Regions from separate parts of the Homo sapiens genome. Here all the other regions are linked to region 1. The links are contacts of gene promoters, found by promoter capture Hi-C in blood cells and fetal thymus (Javierre and others, 2016). All regions are on one chromosome and are shown on one strand. The core of a region is centred on a gene start or on the middle of the fragment in contact, and the rest is flanking DNA. Distances in the headings are between cores, read along the strand shown.

What was found. Contacts are between HindIII fragments. The CHiCAGO score rates a contact against its expected background, and 5 or more counts as called.
Region 2: a fragment that was not itself captured here is called in contact with the fragment with the promoter of LINC00659 in region 1 in 2 of 17 cell types (monocytes and neutrophils); the score reaches 6.4 in monocytes.
Region 3: a contact is called between the fragment with the promoter of BHLHE23 here and the fragment with the promoter of LINC00659 in region 1, in 2 of 17 cell types (activated CD4 T cells and total B cells). The highest score is 5.7, in activated CD4 T cells.

The regions. Positions count from the first base shown.
Region 1 is chr20:62,775,592-62,778,307 of GRCh38, reverse strand. It overlaps LINC00659 (long intergenic non-protein coding RNA 659), which reads left to right and starts at 1,452. Exons shown (of 3, transcript NR_046225.1): 1 at 1,452-1,502. RefSeq lists a silencer at 1,984-2,145. The HindIII fragment of the contact is 9,640 bases long and covers 1-2,716 here.
Region 2 is chr20:62,572,803-62,575,540 of GRCh38, reverse strand. It overlaps the pseudogene RPL7P3. Among named protein-coding and RNA genes, the nearest start is that of MIR133A2, 9.3 kb to the right of the region's middle. The HindIII fragment of the contact is 2,521 bases long and covers 199-2,719 here.
Region 3 is chr20:63,005,640-63,008,406 of GRCh38, reverse strand. BHLHE23 (basic helix-loop-helix family member e23) reads left to right here and starts at 1,443. Exons shown (of 1, transcript NM_080606.4): 1 at 1,443-2,480. The coding sequence starts at 1,633. The coding sequence ends at 2,358. RefSeq lists enhancers at 311-1,018, 1,019-1,724. The HindIII fragment of the contact is 10,733 bases long and covers 1-2,767 here.

The sequences.
Region 1 (2,716 bases), core at 203-2,702:
GGACCATGCCATCAGACAGGCTGGGGACCATGCCATCAGACAAGCCGGGGACCATGCCATCAGACAAGCCGGGGACGACGCCATCAGACAGGCTGGGGACCAAACCATCAGATAGATAGGTCGGGGACCACACCTTCAGATAGGCTGGGGACCACACCATCAAATAGACCAGGGACCAAGCCATCAGACAGGCCGGGGACCACGCCATCAGACAGGCTGGGGACCACACCTTCAGACAGGCTGGGGACCACACCATCAAATAGACCAGGGACCAAGCCATCAGACAGGCCGGGGACCACACCATCAGACAGGCTGGGGACCACACCATCAGACAGACCGGGGACCATGCCATCAGACAGGCCGGGGACCACGCCATCAGACAGGCCGGGGACCACGCCATCAGACAGACTGGGGACCACGCCATCAGACAGGCCGGGGACCATGCCATCAGACAGGCTGGGGACCACGCCATCAGGCAGGCTGGGGACCACGCCATCAGACATGCTGGGGACCACGCCATTAGATAGACTGGCCAGGGACCATGCCATCAGATAGGCTGGGGCAAAGCCATCAGACAGGTGGAGGTCCATGCCATGGGGCATGAGGTGGTGTCTGTCACCTGGTCCGGGAGCACAGTGTTGCCCATCCGTGCCACCTCCCTGAGGCCCTGGCAAGCATCATTCTCTAATGCAGACAGATGGCTGGGGCGCCAGCAGGAGCCAGACTGCCGCGGAGCAGGAACTGGGCAACTAAGGGTGATTTGGGCCGTAGAGAAGTGATTGATGTGGACAAATGGAGTCTGCAATGCAGGCCCCACGCCACCCTGGCTCCCTGTGCGAACCCAGGGCTCTGCTGCCCTGGCGGGGCTGACTCCATGGACGAGGTGGCTCATGTAGGGCTGGCTGGAAGTAATCATGTCACCCCCTGCAATCATGCCCCCAGGAGATTAGAATAGGACCCTGATCCCTCGTTTCTGTCCTATCCCCTCCTTTCCGTCCCATCTCCTCCTTTCTGCCTCATCTCCTCCTTCCTGCCTCATCTCCTCCTTCCTGCCTCATCTCCTTCCTGCCTCATCTCCTCCTTCCTGCCTCATCTCCTCCTTCCTGTCCCATTTCCTCCTTCCAGTCCCATCTCCTCCTTCCAGTCCTATCTCCTTCCTGCTCCCATCTCTTCCTTCCTGTCCCATTTCCTCCTTCCCGTTCCACCTCCCTGTTCCCATCTCCTCCTCCTGTCCCGCCCCCTCCTTCCTGTCCCGCCCCTCCTTCCTGTCCCACCCTCTCCTTCCTGTCCTGCCCCTCCTTCCTGTCCCGCCCCCTCCTTCCTGTCCCGCCCCTCCTTCCTGTCCCACCCCCTCCTTTCTGTACCTGTTGACCTCATCTGGGCTGCAGTTGGTGACTGCTCGAAGGGGTGGGAGGAACAGTATAAAGTCCTGTCCCCTTCCTGCCTTCAAGGGCACCCCTGAAGGACCATATCCACTGTGGACCCCCTTGGGATCAGCCGAGGTCTGTAGAGGTGACATTGCAGCCCAGCACCTCCCTCCTCCGCCCTGCCCTCCTCTGTCCTCCTTCCACAGGTGTGGCCAAGGGCACTGCCCAGTTGGCCTGTGACCCCCAGCTGAGGCTGCTTCCTGGGCAGCTGACTTCAAGTTTGTGACCTGAGCTCTCCAGGCCCCCGAGCGGCTGGTGCCTTGGCCCTGCAGTTCTGCGGCCAAGACTCCTCCTCTGGGATCTCGTCTTACCCTGCTGCGGGTGCCAGGGCTGCATGAAGCAAGGGCGAAAGTCCCCTTCGCCCGGGCGCTGCCCTCTGCCTGCTGTCCCCTGTGCTCCTGTTCCCCGTGGCTGCCCAGGGACAGGTGTGTGGGATGGAGGACGCGGGAGAGGCTGAGTCCTCCCCAGTGGACCCCCAGATGCAGACCCTGAGGCAAGGGAGAGTGAGAAAGTGAAGGAAAGAACACAGCTGGAAATGCAACCAAGAAGGAACCCCAGCCCGGACCACTGTGAGCAAGGAGAGCCGAGCCCCGGGGAGCCCTGAGACAGTGTGGGAGTGGAGGCCTGGGGCGCCTCCAGGCAAGGCAGCGGGATGTCTATGCCCCAAGCCCTGCCAGTCGTGGATGGAGACGCACACTTTAGTGCGGGCTCCAGAGACAGAGGGAGCCCCAGGCCGAGAGCTGTGGGTGCTGGGCAGGTGGGCATTGGCCAGCATTGCCCCCACTCATGGCGGGTCCACCTTAATTCGACGGGTGTGACACTCTCCTCACACATGTGCACATTCAAGAGGCAACTGTCTGTTTCTATAACTGGGTGCATTTCGGTCTGGAGCCGTCGAGCCGGGTGGTGGCCATGAATCCCAGGCAACTTGGGGGGCCCAATCCAGGGTTGCCTTTTGGGGGCCTTGGGGCGGCTAGTGCAGTTCCACATGCTGTTAAGGACCTTGAGATGGGAGATTATTCTGGATGGTCAGGGTGGGCACAGTTTAATCACAGCCCCTCTAAGAGGGACTGGGAGGGTCAGGGTCAGAGGAGGAGAGGGGACGACGGAAGGGAGAGAGAGGCTGGGAGATGCCGTGCAGCCAAGGAGGGCAGGAACCTCTAGAAACCACAAAAGGCGAGGACACAATCTCTCCCCTGAGGCAGAGACCCAGGGCTGCCCCGCACAGTCGCGCAGATCGTGTACTGCCCTGCTCCTGGGGCTCATTCACACAGGTTGCCATGGCTGTG
Region 2 (2,738 bases), core at 210-2,709, 200 kb after region 1:
CTGCCCCACCAGGTTCTTTTCCGGTGGGGAGAGCTGAGGAATGGGGTTCCCATAGCAGGAAAAGCCTTGTGATTTGTCAGTGAAACATTTTTATGAAATCACATTCGCCATTTGCTTTTCTCTCAGGTTTTGAGTTGGAGCTCCCTTTGTCTCCCTCATTGCCCCTGGCCATCTCCCGAGAAGCTTATTGACGAAGCTTCACTTAGGTACGGAGGCCCTGGAGGGGCCCTCCTCATGCCCCTGCCCACCTTCCTTGGAAAGCACCCCAGGTAGTCAGGCACCTGCCCCGAGTCACAGGAGGCACCCCCCAGCCCCCCACCTGGGTTCAGTCTCCACTGAACGCAGCATTTCTCCCAGGGGTCTCTTTCACTGTGTCCACAATGCAATCCTGGAAAATGTACAAAATTGACTGTGTACATTGACACACAGATGGTCACCCAGCGTGTCTTCTCCTCCAATGAGGAAACGTGTATTACAGCTGCTATAAAGATACACCCTCTATAGGAAAGTGGCCCCAAACGTCCCAGTCTGCAGTCCACAGCGCCATACCTGCCTCACGTGCCTGTCCCCCGGGCAGCTTGGGCAGTGCCAGCCTTGCCTCTGCGCTGTTCACAGAGCCTGCTTTCTGTCGCTGGCGTTGGCACTCACGTCTTTCTGTTTTCACTCTTAGAAATAAAGTAAGGTCAGAGCACAGGAAAGCAGCTCACCACCCACCCACCACTGTATCGAGACGGCGGGGCTGCGGGAGTCGGCCCACCAGGTGGGAGGGCAGTGCACGGTGGGTGACAGACGCTCACGCGGGGCCTGGCATCAGCACACTGTGGAGGCAACGGTGCAGGGTGGCCTCACTCTGCCTGCCCAGCGTCCCTCCTCCTTTCATTATCAGGTCCCTGGTTTCAATCCGGGGAGCCTGGGTAGTTCTAGGGGATGGCTTTCTCCCACCCCAAGTGGTCAAGTGACCCAAGCCTGGCCAGCGAGTGCCCATCTTGGGACCTTTGCTGGGTTTCTTGAAATGAATCTCTCTCGTGCTTGCTCTTTTGGTGTCTTTTTCCCTCTGTCTCTCTCTTTCTCTTTGTCTCTTTCCCTCCTCTCTGTCTCTTTCTCTCACTCTGTCTCTTTCTGTCTGTGCGTCTCTCACTCTCTGTCTCTTTCTCTCTGTCTCTCTCTGCATCTTTCTCTCCCCCTCCACCTCTCTCTCTCTCTCTCCCTCTCTCCTCCCTCTCTGTCCCACCGATTAGATATATAAGCCTGAAATCTCAGTGTCCATTTTGCTCCGCCTGCAGACAGCCTGCCAGGAGTGAAGCTAGCCCCAAGGAAAGTGGAGCTGAGCTATGGAGAAAGATTTCTGATGACATGGTTTGGGTTCTGGATCCAGCCCTATTTTCAGACCTCTTGGCCACATAAGCAAGTTGATTCATCTTCTGAGTTGAGTTTCTATCCCCAGCCAACCCAGCATGGCAGGAGTGACAGCAACCAGCCCCATGTGGCTCCTGCAGCCCTGCCTCTGCCCTCTGCACCCTGTGGAGGCTGAGACTCTCGAATGCCCATCAGCAGGCCAATGGTGTCGTCATAGAATGGAGCCCTTCTCAGCAAAGAAAAGGAACAAAACCTATGGAAACACACAACAGCGCAGAAGAGTCTTAAAATGATGTTGAAAGAGGCCAGGCACACAGCCCACACACTGCATGATTCCATTTAGAAAGTTCCAGCTGAAACAGATCTGATCCATGCTGGCTAGTCCATGATTGCTGGGACAGAGGAAGGGGATGACTGCCAAGGTATATGAGGGAAGTTTTTGAACTGATGGAATCTTCCAGATCTTGGTTGTGATGGTGGTTGCATGAGTGTAAAACTCAACATTTGTTAAAACTCTACAAACTTCACACTTAAAATCTGTGCATTTTTTTTGTATGTAAATTATATGACAACCAAGCTGACCCTGAGAGAGCACGCAGGACGTGGGGTCCACCCGATGAGACACACCTGGCCAGAGACAGGACGATCTGAGCTGCAAAGATGATAATAATTGCAGTGGACTGAGACCTACCAAACACGTTTCGGTTCATGAATCCATAATGATACATATTTCTTTTAAATTCAAAGGCAGTCACCATTTATTAACTTACCAGATTACAAAAATAATGATGTAGACCTGAGTTCATTCTGCTAGAAAGCCTGCTGGTCTGGTCTTCCTGGCTGCCAGCACCCCTACCTTCTACAAAACGAGTGGGCTTTTTCTTCATTTCACCTGGTGGAGAAGAGAACTTCAGCCCACAGGAGGTAGTCTGCTTCTTTGAAGTGTTTTCCAGCAGCGTAGATCTCATGCATCAGACCCTCCACGCAGACGATGCCGTATTGACCAGGAACTCCAGCAGTGGAAGAGCGCTCTCCAAGGTGGCCCGCTTCCTGTTGGTGTTGCCGGAGCCGTGCCTGGAGACCTGCTCCTCTACCGACTTCGTGTTCAGGCCCCCGACACAGTGCGGTGTCTGCTTCCACGTCCTGAAGGCACGTTCACTGAAGCCTTGCTGAGATGGACAGATGTGCCCCTGAAGACACAGTAAAGGTGAACAAGCTGCAAGCCCACACCGGGGACCCCCTGCTGCCAATGGCCAGGCCAGTCTGGGCTCCCAGGTGCGTACGACGAAGTGCCTCTGTCCCAGTGCCACAGTGACTCGGATCCCAGCTCTGGGCTCTGTATTCCTTGCGGTGGTGCAAAGCTTTCTCATAACTCAGCTTCC
Region 3 (2,767 bases), core at 194-2,693, 230 kb before region 1:
AGGTATCCTCAATTCCCGGTCTGTGCATCAGCCCCGAAGGCGGGGTGGGGTCCCAGGACAGCGCCTCAGACAGACGCTTCCATCCTCGGGGCCCCTGCGCTCCTGGCGGGCGTGTGCTGGGGGTGAGGCCGGTGCTGCAGGACGCGCAGCCAGACAGGCCGCCAGCCCGGCAGAGGCTGCCTCAGACCCATTCCCCTCCGCCAGGACAAAGGCCTGAGTTTCCCACGGAGACTTATCCATGCATCTGTCTCCTCACACCCCGCACCTGGCAGGGAACCACCGGACAGGCCGGTCACTGCTGCGTTCCCAGAACCTTCCAGACAGCACATCCGCCCCACACACGTGCAGCTCCCACTCCCCTCCCGGGGCTGCGCACACTGCCCCATCGCTGTGGCTCCTCCTGGGGCGGAGCCTGGAGAACAGGGAGGGTATGCGGCCCTTCCCAGGTCACACAGAAGGGCCCGACGGGCCGCTCCACCTCGTGCCATAGGCCAGGGTGGCCCAGTCTCCCACCCAAGCCAGGACCGGAGAAGCCACTATCCCTCAGCACACTCTAGCCTCAGCACTCGGCCGGGCCTCCAGGCAGGTTCCCACCTGGGAGAAGGGCTGGGGTTCTGGCCTTCATGCGGGGTTGGAAGAGGACTGAAAAGGCGAGTCCGAGGCTGGCCACATTCCCATCCAGTGTGGCTGGACCCCAGGGGTTCGGAGGCTCCGGGAAAGCCCACCAAGCCTCACGCGTTTCGCTGATAGATGCCCAGGAAGCGGCTGGCAGGGAAGAGGCGGTCCTGCAGCTCACAGAGCTCCCCTCCCACCCCCGGGGAGCCCCAGGCCGCGCTGCCCTCCACCTTCCCGCCCTCCCCGGCCTGCAACGCTCGTGGCGTTTTTCAACAGGTTCTAGAAACTCCCTCTCACTCTGCCCCTCAAGCCTGGCCACAGGGCGCCCCGAGCAGGGAGTGTGCGGGCTCCGGGTACACGCTGCGCCGCGGCTGCACCAGAGCGCCCACGACCCTGACCCCGACCCGAAGCGGCCCCTCAGCGGGACAGGGTGTTGGCGCTGGCGCTGCTGCTATTGCGGCGCGCCCCCCCGCTCTGGCCCCTGCGTGTCGCCAGGGACTCTTGCGCTAGGGTCAGACTCAAAGACGGACCGAGGCGGGTGCCCACCTGGGACGCGTGCGTTTGGTGGCGGAATCCCCGGGGCGGCCGGAGGCGGCGGCCGGGGAGTCGAGAAGCAAGTACTAGCGCTCCAGGACCGCGCGCGCCGCCCCGCGCCGCCCCGCGCCGCCCCTCGGTCCAGAGCCCCCACCCCCGGCCTGTGAGCCTGCGGCGCTGGTGGAGCCCGGCTCCAGGAAGAGGAGCTCACCCGGTCCCCCCTGATTGGACAGCAGCGAGGTCCCACCGGGCGCCTCCGCGGCTTAAAACCGAAGCGGGGGCGAGGGGGAGGTAGAGCCCGCCCCCTGCGCGTCGCGGCTGGGAGGGAGAGGAGGTGGGAGAGAAGGAAGAGGCGGAGGAGGCAGCGGGCGCCGAGGCTCTGGGACCCGCAGGCAAGCCAGACCGACGCGCAGAGCCGGGAGCCTCATCGCAGCGGCAGCGGCAGCGGCGGGCTCGGGCCGGCCTCGGGGGCTGCTCACCCACATGAGCATCCGCCCACCCGGCGAGCCCCCGAGCCCAGGCGGCGCGGCCATGGCCGAGCTCAAGTCGCTGTCGGGGGACGCGTACCTGGCACTAAGCCACGGCTACGCGGCGGCGGCTGCGGGTCTCGCCTACGGGGCGGCGCGAGAACCCGAAGCGGCCCGCGGCTACGGCACTCCGGGCCCGGGCGGCGACCTCCCCGCGGCGCCTGCACCTCGCGCCCCAGCTCAGGCGGCGGAGAGCAGCGGCGAACAGAGCGGGGACGAGGACGACGCCTTCGAGCAGCGGCGGCGGCGGCGCGGGCCAGGGAGCGCGGCGGACGGGCGGCGGCGGCCGCGAGAGCAGCGGTCTCTGCGGCTCAGCATCAACGCGCGCGAGCGGCGGCGCATGCACGACCTAAACGACGCGCTGGACGGGCTGCGAGCCGTCATCCCCTACGCGCACAGCCCGTCGGTGCGCAAGCTCTCCAAGATCGCCACGCTGCTGCTCGCCAAGAACTATATCCTCATGCAGGCGCAGGCCCTGGACGAGATGCGGCGCCTGGTGGCCTTCCTCAACCAGGGCCAGGGCCTGGCCGCGCCCGTAAACGCCGCGCCCTTGACGCCCTTCGGCCAGGCCACTGTGTGCCCCTTCTCCGCAGGCGCCGCCCTGGGGCCCTGCCCTGACAAGTGCGCCGCCTTCTCCGGGACGCCCTCCGCGCTTTGCAAACACTGTCACGAGAAGCCGTGACCGCGCGGGCCCCCGGCCCTCCCGCACGCGTCCTCCGATCGCCCCTGTGACTGTCTCTCTGCCCGGACAGGAAAGGCCTGGAGGGACCCTGCAGACCAGGAGGAGGGGGCCCGACTTCGCTTCCAGCCTGTGCGCGGTGGACAGTTTAGCGCAGCGGGAAGCGCCAAGGCCGTCGGGGCGCGGGATTGAGCTCGAGAGCCGGACGCTGGACTCTGCGCCCGGGAACTCGCGGCACCCACTGGGTATTGTCGGGACCCAGCAAGTCTAGGAACGGGGGTGGGTAGAGCATCCTTCGGGCACTGCCGTTCGTCCCCAAAAGAAGACCACCGCGGGGTCCCAGGGCCACGGCGAGGACGGGCACTGGTCAGATTCCGGACAGGCGGTCCTGGCCCCGGGCGCACGAAAGGTG